Linked DNA regions of Homo sapiens: regions 1 and 3 are each linked to region 2. Evidence: promoter capture Hi-C in 16 types of primary human blood cells and fetal thymus (Javierre and others, 2016). All regions are on one chromosome and are shown on one strand. The core of a region is centred on a gene start or on the middle of the fragment in contact, and the rest is flanking DNA. Distances in the headings are between cores, read along the strand shown.

Region 1 (3,039 bases), core at 214-2,713, 390 kb before region 2:
TTGCTTGGTCCTTTAGCAGTATGAGCGCAGGAAACTGACTTATTCTCACCGGAAGGATTTTTCTTTATTCAAATGGTGTTCCAGGAAGCCTGTCCCCTCCCCCCGCACGGGTGGGGGCAGGGTTGGAGGCCCATGCTGTACATAAATCAGGTTCTCGGTGTTGAACCAGTTGACTCAGCTTGGAAAGTGGGGCCTGCTGCTTTAGGGGGAGCCCGGCAGTGCTCCTGAGTGTGCCTTTAAACCGAAAACCTTCAGACTTGATTTGAACAGGAATGTGTTTTCCGAAGTGGAGATTCAAGCTTGTAATTCCTGCCCCATCAGGATCTCCCAATCCACCCTCCTTATGAAATGGGGTCAAGGGAAGGGTCCCCAGGAGGGAAGGTTGGTTGTAGTCTGGTGTAGGGCCTAGTTCATGGACAGTCAGTGCTGAAAGGGGCTCCAGGGTCAGGCCTTTGGCCCAGGACTCTCATTGAACAGATGAGATCAAGCCTGTCAGCTGCTGCCTTGGTCTGGGTGCAGAACCTTGTTGAAGGTCATGTCTTGGGACTCCCCTGCCTGGTGACAGGTTCCTTGAGGCTGCTTAGAGGCCTGGGCTTAGCACATCCAGGGGATGGTCGTTTCTCCATTCATGGCAGCGTCAGAAGCGTCAGAAACCTTGTTACCATGGAGAGTGCTCCACTTGGGGTTGGGGAAAGGGAGGTTAACGGATAAAGGTAACTGAAACCCTGGCAAATACGGGGCCCAGGTGGAGGAGAATGGAACTGATATTTATTGAGTCTCTATCATGTACCAAGAATCGGACTTATATTAGACCATTGAGGACAGGGGAGCAGGGAGAGGGATAGATGGATTGGGGTTGGGGAGGGCAGAGAGGGGCCCTGTCCTGGGGCTGTATAGGGAAGTGTGTGTGGCAGGAGATGACACAGATGGAGTAGAAGGAACCCGGCTGTGCATCTGCGCACACCCTGCACTACCATGCTCTGGCTCTGTGACCTCGGATAGGTCGCATACCCTTTCACAACTCAGCATCTTCTGTTACGTGGCGGACAGCCATGCTGGCTTCCTAGATTCCGTGGGAGCCTCATGGGCTAACATCAGCATCACTGGGCACACAGCAAGTGTCCTGGACATGCAGCTCGGGTCTGCAGATAGAGCGGCAGCATGGGATTGTGGGAGGAGCTTGGGTGTGAGGGCCGTGTAGACAGCTTAGTTTTGTGACCTTGCGCAGGTAATTTCTGTTCTCTGAGCCTCAATTCCATTGCCTTTAAAATGAGATAATGATTATTGTCACAAGGATTTTTGGAATGAGATGGCGTGTGAAAGCACCTGGCACAGGATCCGAGACCTTGTGGCGATTTAAAAGTATGAGTTCCTTTCCCCTTCAGTGAAGCAGCTTCTATACTTCTGGATCAGGGCTCTGTCCAGAGCAGTGGTTGTGAGCGATTTTGCACCCTTCCCCTCCACCCCCAGGAAACTGGAGACATTTTGATGGTTACAGCTTGGGGATGCCACTGGAATCCAGTGGGCAGAGGCCTATGACACACAGCTAAGATCCCACGTCAGAGAATCCTGGGTCCACAGTGTCAGTTGTGCCGTGATTGAGGAAGATCTAGAGGAGATCAAGGGCTGGGCAGGATTCCCTCAGCACCACAGCCTGTTCTCTGAAAAGGCCTAAAGCCAGCCAAGTATGACAGCCGGCTTCACAAATGATAGGTGACTTCAGGGAGGTCCTCCCTGCGCCCCACATCTCCCAACTGCTGAAGGCCCTCACCCATCAATGGGCCGAGTGATTGCTGGACGCGTGGTGCTGAGTTAACGCCACAGCAGTAGCTTTTTGCCCCCGTGGACTAGTTTTATACCTGCCCTTCCCCATCCATCATTTGAATGATGTCATTTGTTAGTTGTGCCAGGTTTACATGAAGAGCAAGTGAGCCTATGTTTTCTGTTCAGCCTATGGGATCCTGCTTATTGCTTTGGGGACACCACATTAGAAAAGAGTTACAAGGGCTGGGCGCGGTGGCTCACACCTGTAATCCCAGCACTTTGGGGAGGCCGAGGCGGACAGATCACGAGGTCAGGAGATCGAGACCATCCTGGCTAACACAGTGAAACCCCGCCTCTACTAAAAATACAAAAAAAATTAGCTGGGCGTGCTGGCGGGCGCCTGTCGTCCCAGCTACTCAGGAGGCTGAGGCAGGAGAATGGCATGAACCTGGGAGGCGGAGCTTGCAGTGAGGCAATATTGCGCCACTGCACTCCAGCCTGGGCGACAGAGCGAGACTCCGTCTCAAAAAAAAAAAGGAGTTACAAAGTAGAGGTTATCAGTGGCTGATATCAGGCTGGCCTTGTTTGGATGGGGAAAAGGAACTCCAGAACTGAAAGACAGAGGGACTGGACTGCCTCTTGAGTGTGGAAGGTGGATCAGAGCCAAGCAGGGAGCTGGGGAACCAGCGCTGGGAGTGGCTTGCCTGGTGGCGCAGACCCAGCTCACTCAAGATGGATCTCATACTGGGGAAGCCAGGAGATTCAGCTCTGCTCCGAAGGCCCTTCCTGTCTGCACGTGGGTATCACTGCATGAAGAGGAGTAGAGACCCGATTGGGCAGAAGCCATTCCTTGTTCTATTTTTGAAGCTTTTTGGCTGAAGCCAGTGTTTCATACGAGGAAATGAAAGTTGGCTGATGTAATTCAGTTTAAAATAGGTGTCACCTTTGGGGACCTAACCCAGATTGTAATTTTCTTTTGCATGCTGGGTATTCAGAACTCAGCAAAGAATGTGTTGTCAGGATTGCAACTGAGGTTGGGGGGTAAGGGTGGAGACTGGCTCATTGTTGGCAAAAGCTTCTGTTAGATTGATAAACTCTTTCCAGGTAACAGTTGGGACCTCATTGATCCCGATAGATCTTAGAAGTTCTAGCACATCTTAATTTCCTTAATAGTTTAATTGATGAAGAGCATTGATGAAGAGTTAGGAGGTCTCCCTTTGTACCTACATTTTCCGCTTTTTTAGAATGAGAAGATGAGAACGACCTCCAGTTCAC
Region 2 (2,946 bases), core at 201-2,700:
ACTATGTTGCTCAGGCTGGTCTTGAACTTCTGGGCTCAAGCAATCCTCCTGCCTTGGCCTCGCAAAGTGCTAGGATTATAGGCATATGCCACCATGCCCCTAAAGGTGACATCAAGAGAGGTGAGTAGATAGAAAGCAGTTTGGGAGTTGATTGACATTTGAAATAGCTGGGGAAATGATTATTACTTTTTTCCTTTTTTTGCCTGGAGACTCCCAGTATTGGAGGATATAATCATTGTTCTCAATTTTTTGAAGATCTGTCAAGTGGAAGACATTCTGTATTGCTCCAGGCAGCCTAACTACCAGCAATGGAAGGAAATAAAGGGAAACAGATTTCAGCTCAGCAGGAGGCAGAACTTTCTAACATTTAGAGCTGTCCAACAGTGGAGCAGGCTGCATTACTTGAGGGAGTGAGCTCCCTGAAATTTGAACTGTTGAACAGGAAGATGACCATCTGGCTGAATGTACAGGAGGGAATTCCTGCCTGGGCAACAGTTGCACTAGTGACCTTTAAGCAGGTATCTTCCAATTTTAAGGTTTCTAGACTGTTCAACTCAGCTAACTTGACCTCTGAATATATGAGTTATGGTGTTACAAAAATTATTAGACAGTTCATTTATTGACTTACCTAAAATAACTGCATGGTGAAGTTTATGATAAGCAAGATTTTAGAAACTGAGAAGTGGGAAGGCAGGTTTTACACTGAAAATCCAGATACCATCCAAACCAATTAATGGCACTTAGAACAAAAGGGAAGGGAGGGGCCGGCAGCGGTGGCTCACGCCTGTAATCCCAGCACTTTGGGAGGCCGAGGCGGGCGGATCACGAGGTCAGGAGATCGAGACCATCCTGGCTAACACGGTGAAACCTCGTCTCTACTAAAAATCAAAAAATTAGCCGGGCGTGGTGGCGGGCGCTTGTAGTTCCAGCTACTTGGGAGGCTGAGGCGGGAGAATGGCGTGAACCCGGGAGGCGGAGCTTGCAGTGAGCCGAGATTGAGCCACTGCACTCCAGCCTGGGCGACAGAGCCAGACTCCGTCTCGAAAAAAAAAAAAAAAGGGAAGGGAGGTTTGTAAGTAGTGTGTGCGTACGTGTGAGAGAGAAACAGAGAAGAGAGAGAGTCATTCATGCGAATAATGTGTCCTGGGCAACTGAGCGTTGTCACAGAAAGCATAAAACGCTCTACATTTTTGCTTTACACATACTTGCTCAGTCGGATTCTTCACGTCCAGCATTACTGCAGGCGGAAACCAGGGCCCAGGCCTGGTGAACAGCCTTCCGGAAGACGATTCCGGACCCGGACACCCACGACAGCCTCAGGGGGCAGCTGACCTAGGGCTGCCTAAGGCGGAAGTGGGAGCCCCTAGCCGCCCGGGCGGAACTACAGCTCCCAGAGGCCCCCGCGGCGCTGCGCACGCGCGCTGGCGTGGCGGCAGCGCCGCTGCAGGACGCAGGGAAGCCAACAGGCGAGTGGCGAAGGTGGCGGCAGCGGCGGCGGGGGCAGTCACCGGCTAGGGCGACGGCTCCGAGGCCGAGTGGCGGTCCGACAGAGTCCTCCGTGTCCTCCCCCGCATGACCCCCTTGGTGAGTACGCGTCCCGATTTAGTCCGCGGGCTGTGAGCGGCTCCCTGCCTCGCGGCCGGGTTGCTCCGGCCTAGGGCCGCAGCCTGTCTCTGACTGCCCGGCCGTCAGGTCCAACTGACCCCGGGGTCCTGGGCTCTTCCCGTCAGTGTCGGGCGAGGTGGGGGTCGGGGGACACTGGGTTAGACCCAGGGGAGAGATGTGGCGGCGCGCAGGAGCCAGGGCGGCCTGGGGCTGAGGAGAGGGAGAGACGCGTGGGGGATGGGATGGGAAGGGACAGGAGGACCGCGGGGCGGCCTCGGGTGGGGGCCAGAGACGAGAGGCCCGGCAGGTAGGGAACTGAGTATAGGAGGCGAGAACGAAATGGAATGTCTTCTGAGTGTCGCTGATAAAGATATCGTGCTGCAGGGAAGCTTGACAAGCTGGACACACGGGTCTGGGGGCAGCCCACCTAACACAGACACTCACTGTACTTGGCATCTTTCCACTTGCTGTCGGAGGTCTGAAAGTGAGGGAGCTGTTGGTTGTTTCCATCCCTTTTCTTTTAACTTCACCTTTTATTGACTGGCAAAATTGTAGTGAGTGCTGGCTAGGCAAACCACAGAAGTACACCCAGGGTTCTGTGTATAAATGTGCATAAAAACAGGGAGACATAGTGATAGGTTCAGATGAGAACTAGGTCAAAGGAGGAATCAGTGTTTTTATTTTTAAATTTATGACGAAAATCAGTTCTGAGCAGGACTTTGAACTAGAGAGGGGTTTTAAACTGGAGTTCATTGATGGATAGAATTAGAAGGGTCCTTTCACTAGAAGGAGGATAAAATGACATCATTATTTTTATTGACTGCTAACTGAAACTTATTATTTCCTTCAGTTACGAATGTGGACAACAAGCCAGAGTAGCATTAGCAGCGCCTATGACTTTGTGATCAATAAAAATTACGGATATTTTTGCATCATGTTTACAGTTGCAGATAGCTCAGAATATCATTTATGGTTAACACTTCTTTGAATTTCTGGTGTTACTAGACCCGCCGTTAGACATTGTTATTTAATGTGATAATAAGGCTGTACATATATTATGACCATATTAGTTTGTTGTTTTGCTAATATTTCCATATAATTGGTTTCCCTTGTAATCACATGTATTTAATTATGCACTTAAAAGAAATCTGAGAAAGGGACCATAGGCTTCACCAAACTGCCAATGAGGTCCGTGCACAAAAAGATTAAGAACTCCTGAAATAATTTGGGAGGCCGAGGCGGGCGGATCATTGAGGTCAAGAGATCGAGACCATCCTGGCCAACATGGTGAAACCCCATCTCTACTAAAAATACAAAAATTAGTTGGGTGTGGTGGCCCAT
Region 3 (2,831 bases), core at 190-2,689, 410 kb before region 2:
GAGCAGGAGAGCCAGAGGGCCAGGGAATAGTAGCTCTGGGGAGCTGTGTCTGGGAGCCACATCTGGGTGTGGGGGGACAGCTTTATAGGCCCAGCTCAGAAGGGTCCCACAGTGACCTAGGCCCTCTGGGATCTGGGATGGAGTGGGACTGCCTCAAAGCTGTCATTGTCGCTCCCTCACCCGCCTGACTGTCTGGGACTTAAAATAGCAGGAGCACAGCGGATCTCCTGAGAAGTTTCTGGCAAAGAGGTTTAGGGGGGGAGGGTGTGAGTCGCCGCTGGGAACTCTTGAGTTTGAAGCTCCCAAAGCCCAGCTGCTCCACCCCTGCCCCCAGGGAGCCTAGAATCCATGGGCGGGGCAGGTGGGGGGTCCTCTGTTCCCTCCCTGTCCTGCTGTGGGAGTGGGGAGACTGGGTCCTGCCCCAGCTCTGCCATGGAAGCACCGGCTAGATGGCTGGGCCAAGTCCTGCCCCCTTCGGACCTCAGTTTCCCAGATGTACCAGGAGTTGCGGACCTCAACATCTGCTGAGAGGTCCCTGGAGTTCATGGCAGGTGGTCCCAGTACAGACACCCAGAGTCAGACAGCCATGGGCTGAAATCCCAGTTCCACTCCTACTGGCTGAGTGGCTCTGAGCAAGTCCTCCCAGCTCTCCGGGTGAGTTTCTTCACCTGTAAATTAACAATGAAACCAAGTCCTGCTCGTTCCAAGCTTCAGATTGCGCTATCCGGTAAGGATCCTGGCAGCTCCTGGGCAACTGCCCCCCAGCCCCAGCCTCCACCCCATCCTCAGATGGCACATTTTGTGCTGCCAGGAATGTTAACAGCAACGTGACCCCACTTTTAATGCCATGTACTTTACACACACTACCTCTGGCTTCCACGCCCTGGAGGACAGAGCTGGCTACTGTCCCCAGCGCTCTCCTGGGACATCCTTAACCTCAGTACTGGCCACTCCTGGACGGAAGGGGTATTGGCTCCTGAGGGGGCCCTCTTGGGCATCTACCGTGTGCCAGGCCCTGTGCTTGGCTCACCCCTGGAGTCCTGTGGGGCAGGGCTGATGCTCCCGGTTGTGCAGATGGGGAGACAGGCTCGTTGCTCCCCTGTATCAAAGAGGTGCAGGGACCCCTTGCAGTTCGCAGTCCGCAGGGCGCGGGGCCGGGCTCTGGGCCGCGCGGTGCGTGTGGCTGGCGCGCCCTCTAGTGGCCGCTCTGCCTGCCGTGTTGCCCCGCGCGAGAGCTGCCCTAGAGTGGACGCGCAGCCGCTGGCGCGGGAAGTCCCTTCTCCCAGCCCGCCGCGGTCCCGCCTGCTGCGGCTCCACCTCCGCCGAACTGCAAGCGGTCTGGCCTGCCTGTCAGTCCTCGTGGCTTCGCAGGGACCCCACCATGGCCGCACGCCCCGCCCCGATTACCATGGAGACCGCCTGTACACAGTTTCCTCTTTCCTCTGCCCAGTCCTGGGGTCCCGCGGCCGCCTAGGAGGGAGCCCGCCGGGGCGGGGCGGGGCCGGGTGCCCATGAACAGCGGGGTCCCGGCCACGCTGGCCGTGCGGAGAGTGAAATTCTTCGGCCAGCACGGCGGGGAGGTGAGGTCCAGCGGGCTCTGCCCAGACTCCCGGCTTTGGATGCAGAGTGGTTCCTGGTTCTGTGTAGTGGGGGTTCCAGAATGTTCTCTGGGCAGTGGCTCAGGACATTGAGTCCAGAGTAGACTTTGCTAACCCAAGAAGGATCGAAGTAGGTTCTCAGCTCCAGTGCCGGGCCCCAGCTCCAGAGCAGCTCTAGGTTCTAAGCTCTGCCTGTAAAAAGAGCCCCGGGCTCTGGGCTCTGCCTCGAGAGGGGCACAAAGCTCCCTGCTGACTCTGGTGTTTTCTGGGGCCCTGGCTCTAAAGTGAACTCAGAACTTAGAGTAGATTCTGGACTCTCCGTTGTCAGCTGCGGCTCTGGAATGGGCTCTTAGCTCTGGGGTTCCAGGCTCTGGTTCCAGAGAAGGCTCTTGCCTCCAACTGCAGGCTCTGGCTTTACGGGACTCGAGAGAGGGCCCAGTGGGTCCCGGGTTCTGGGCTCTGGTGGTGGAGTGAGGCTTGAAGTCAAGCTCCAACCCCAGGCTCTTGGGGGGCAGTGTTTAGGGGTCAGAGATGAGCGGACAGGGGTTTCTTCCCCAGAATGGGACCGCTTTTGTGCTGTTTCTAGGTCAACTCTTCTGCCTTCTCCCCTGATGGCCAGATGCTGCTCACAGGCTCAGAAGATGGCTGCGTGTATGGCTGGGAGACCCGGAGTGGGCAGCTGCTGTGGAGGCTGGGTGGCCACACAGGTGGGGCTCCCACACCTGGCCGGGAAGACCGAGGCACAAGGGTCTGGCATGCTGCAGAGCTGACTGCAGTGACCTCCGATGAGCTGGGCACGGGTGCAAGGCAGGGCTGGGCAGGTTGGGAGATGGGACGAGATATCTGGGTGCTGGGGCTTAGACTCTAACAGGCCTGGACTCAGCCTTCTTTAAAAACACACACACACACACACATACATACAAAAACAACTGTAATGTAACACAGTAATACTTACTGTTGCATCCTTTTTTGTGTGTGACAGAGTCGCTCTCTGTCACCCAGGCTGGACAACCTCGGCTCACTGCAACCCCCGCCTCCTGGGTTCAAGCAATTCTCTGCCTCAGCCTCTCGAGTAGCTGGAATTATAGACACCTGCTACCACACCCAGCTAATTTTTTTGTATCTTTAGTAGAGACGGGGTTTCACCATCTTGGCCAGGCTGGTCTTGAACTCCTGACCTCGTGATCCACCCACCTCGGCCTCCCAAAGTGCTGGGATTAAAGGCGTGAGCCA

Evidence for each region. Contacts are between HindIII fragments. The CHiCAGO score rates a contact against its expected background, and 5 or more counts as called.
Region 1: a contact is called between a fragment that was not itself captured here and the fragment with the promoter of GAPVD1 in region 2, in 1 of 17 cell types (fetal thymus). The highest score is 6.9, in fetal thymus.
Region 3: a contact is called between the fragment with the promoter of WDR38 here and the fragment with the promoter of GAPVD1 in region 2, in 1 of 17 cell types (fetal thymus). The highest score is 6.5, in fetal thymus.

Annotation. Positions count from the first base shown.
Region 1 is chr9:124,870,308-124,873,346 of GRCh38, forward strand. The region is part of intron 3 of ARPC5L (actin related protein 2/3 complex subunit 5 like); the gene reads left to right. Among named protein-coding and RNA genes, the nearest start is that of ARPC5L, 9.7 kb to the left of the region's middle. RefSeq lists enhancers at 1-78, 539-588, 2,227-2,727, 2,425-2,654. The HindIII fragment of the contact is 2,332 bases long and covers 298-2,629 here.
Region 2 is chr9:125,260,376-125,263,321 of GRCh38, forward strand. It overlaps GAPVD1 (GTPase activating protein and VPS9 domains 1), which reads left to right and starts at 1,451. Exons shown (of 28, transcript NM_001282680.3): 1 at 1,451-1,584. RefSeq lists silencers at 1,348-1,529, 1,468-1,597. The HindIII fragment of the contact is 7,780 bases long and covers 1-1,992 here.
Region 3 is chr9:124,852,021-124,854,851 of GRCh38, forward strand. WDR38 (WD repeat domain 38) reads left to right here and starts at 1,440. Exons shown (of 9, transcript NM_001045476.3): 1 at 1,440-1,580; 2 at 2,185-2,305. The coding sequence starts at 1,512. RefSeq lists a silencer at 1,492-1,541. The HindIII fragment of the contact is 17,878 bases long and covers 707-2,831 here.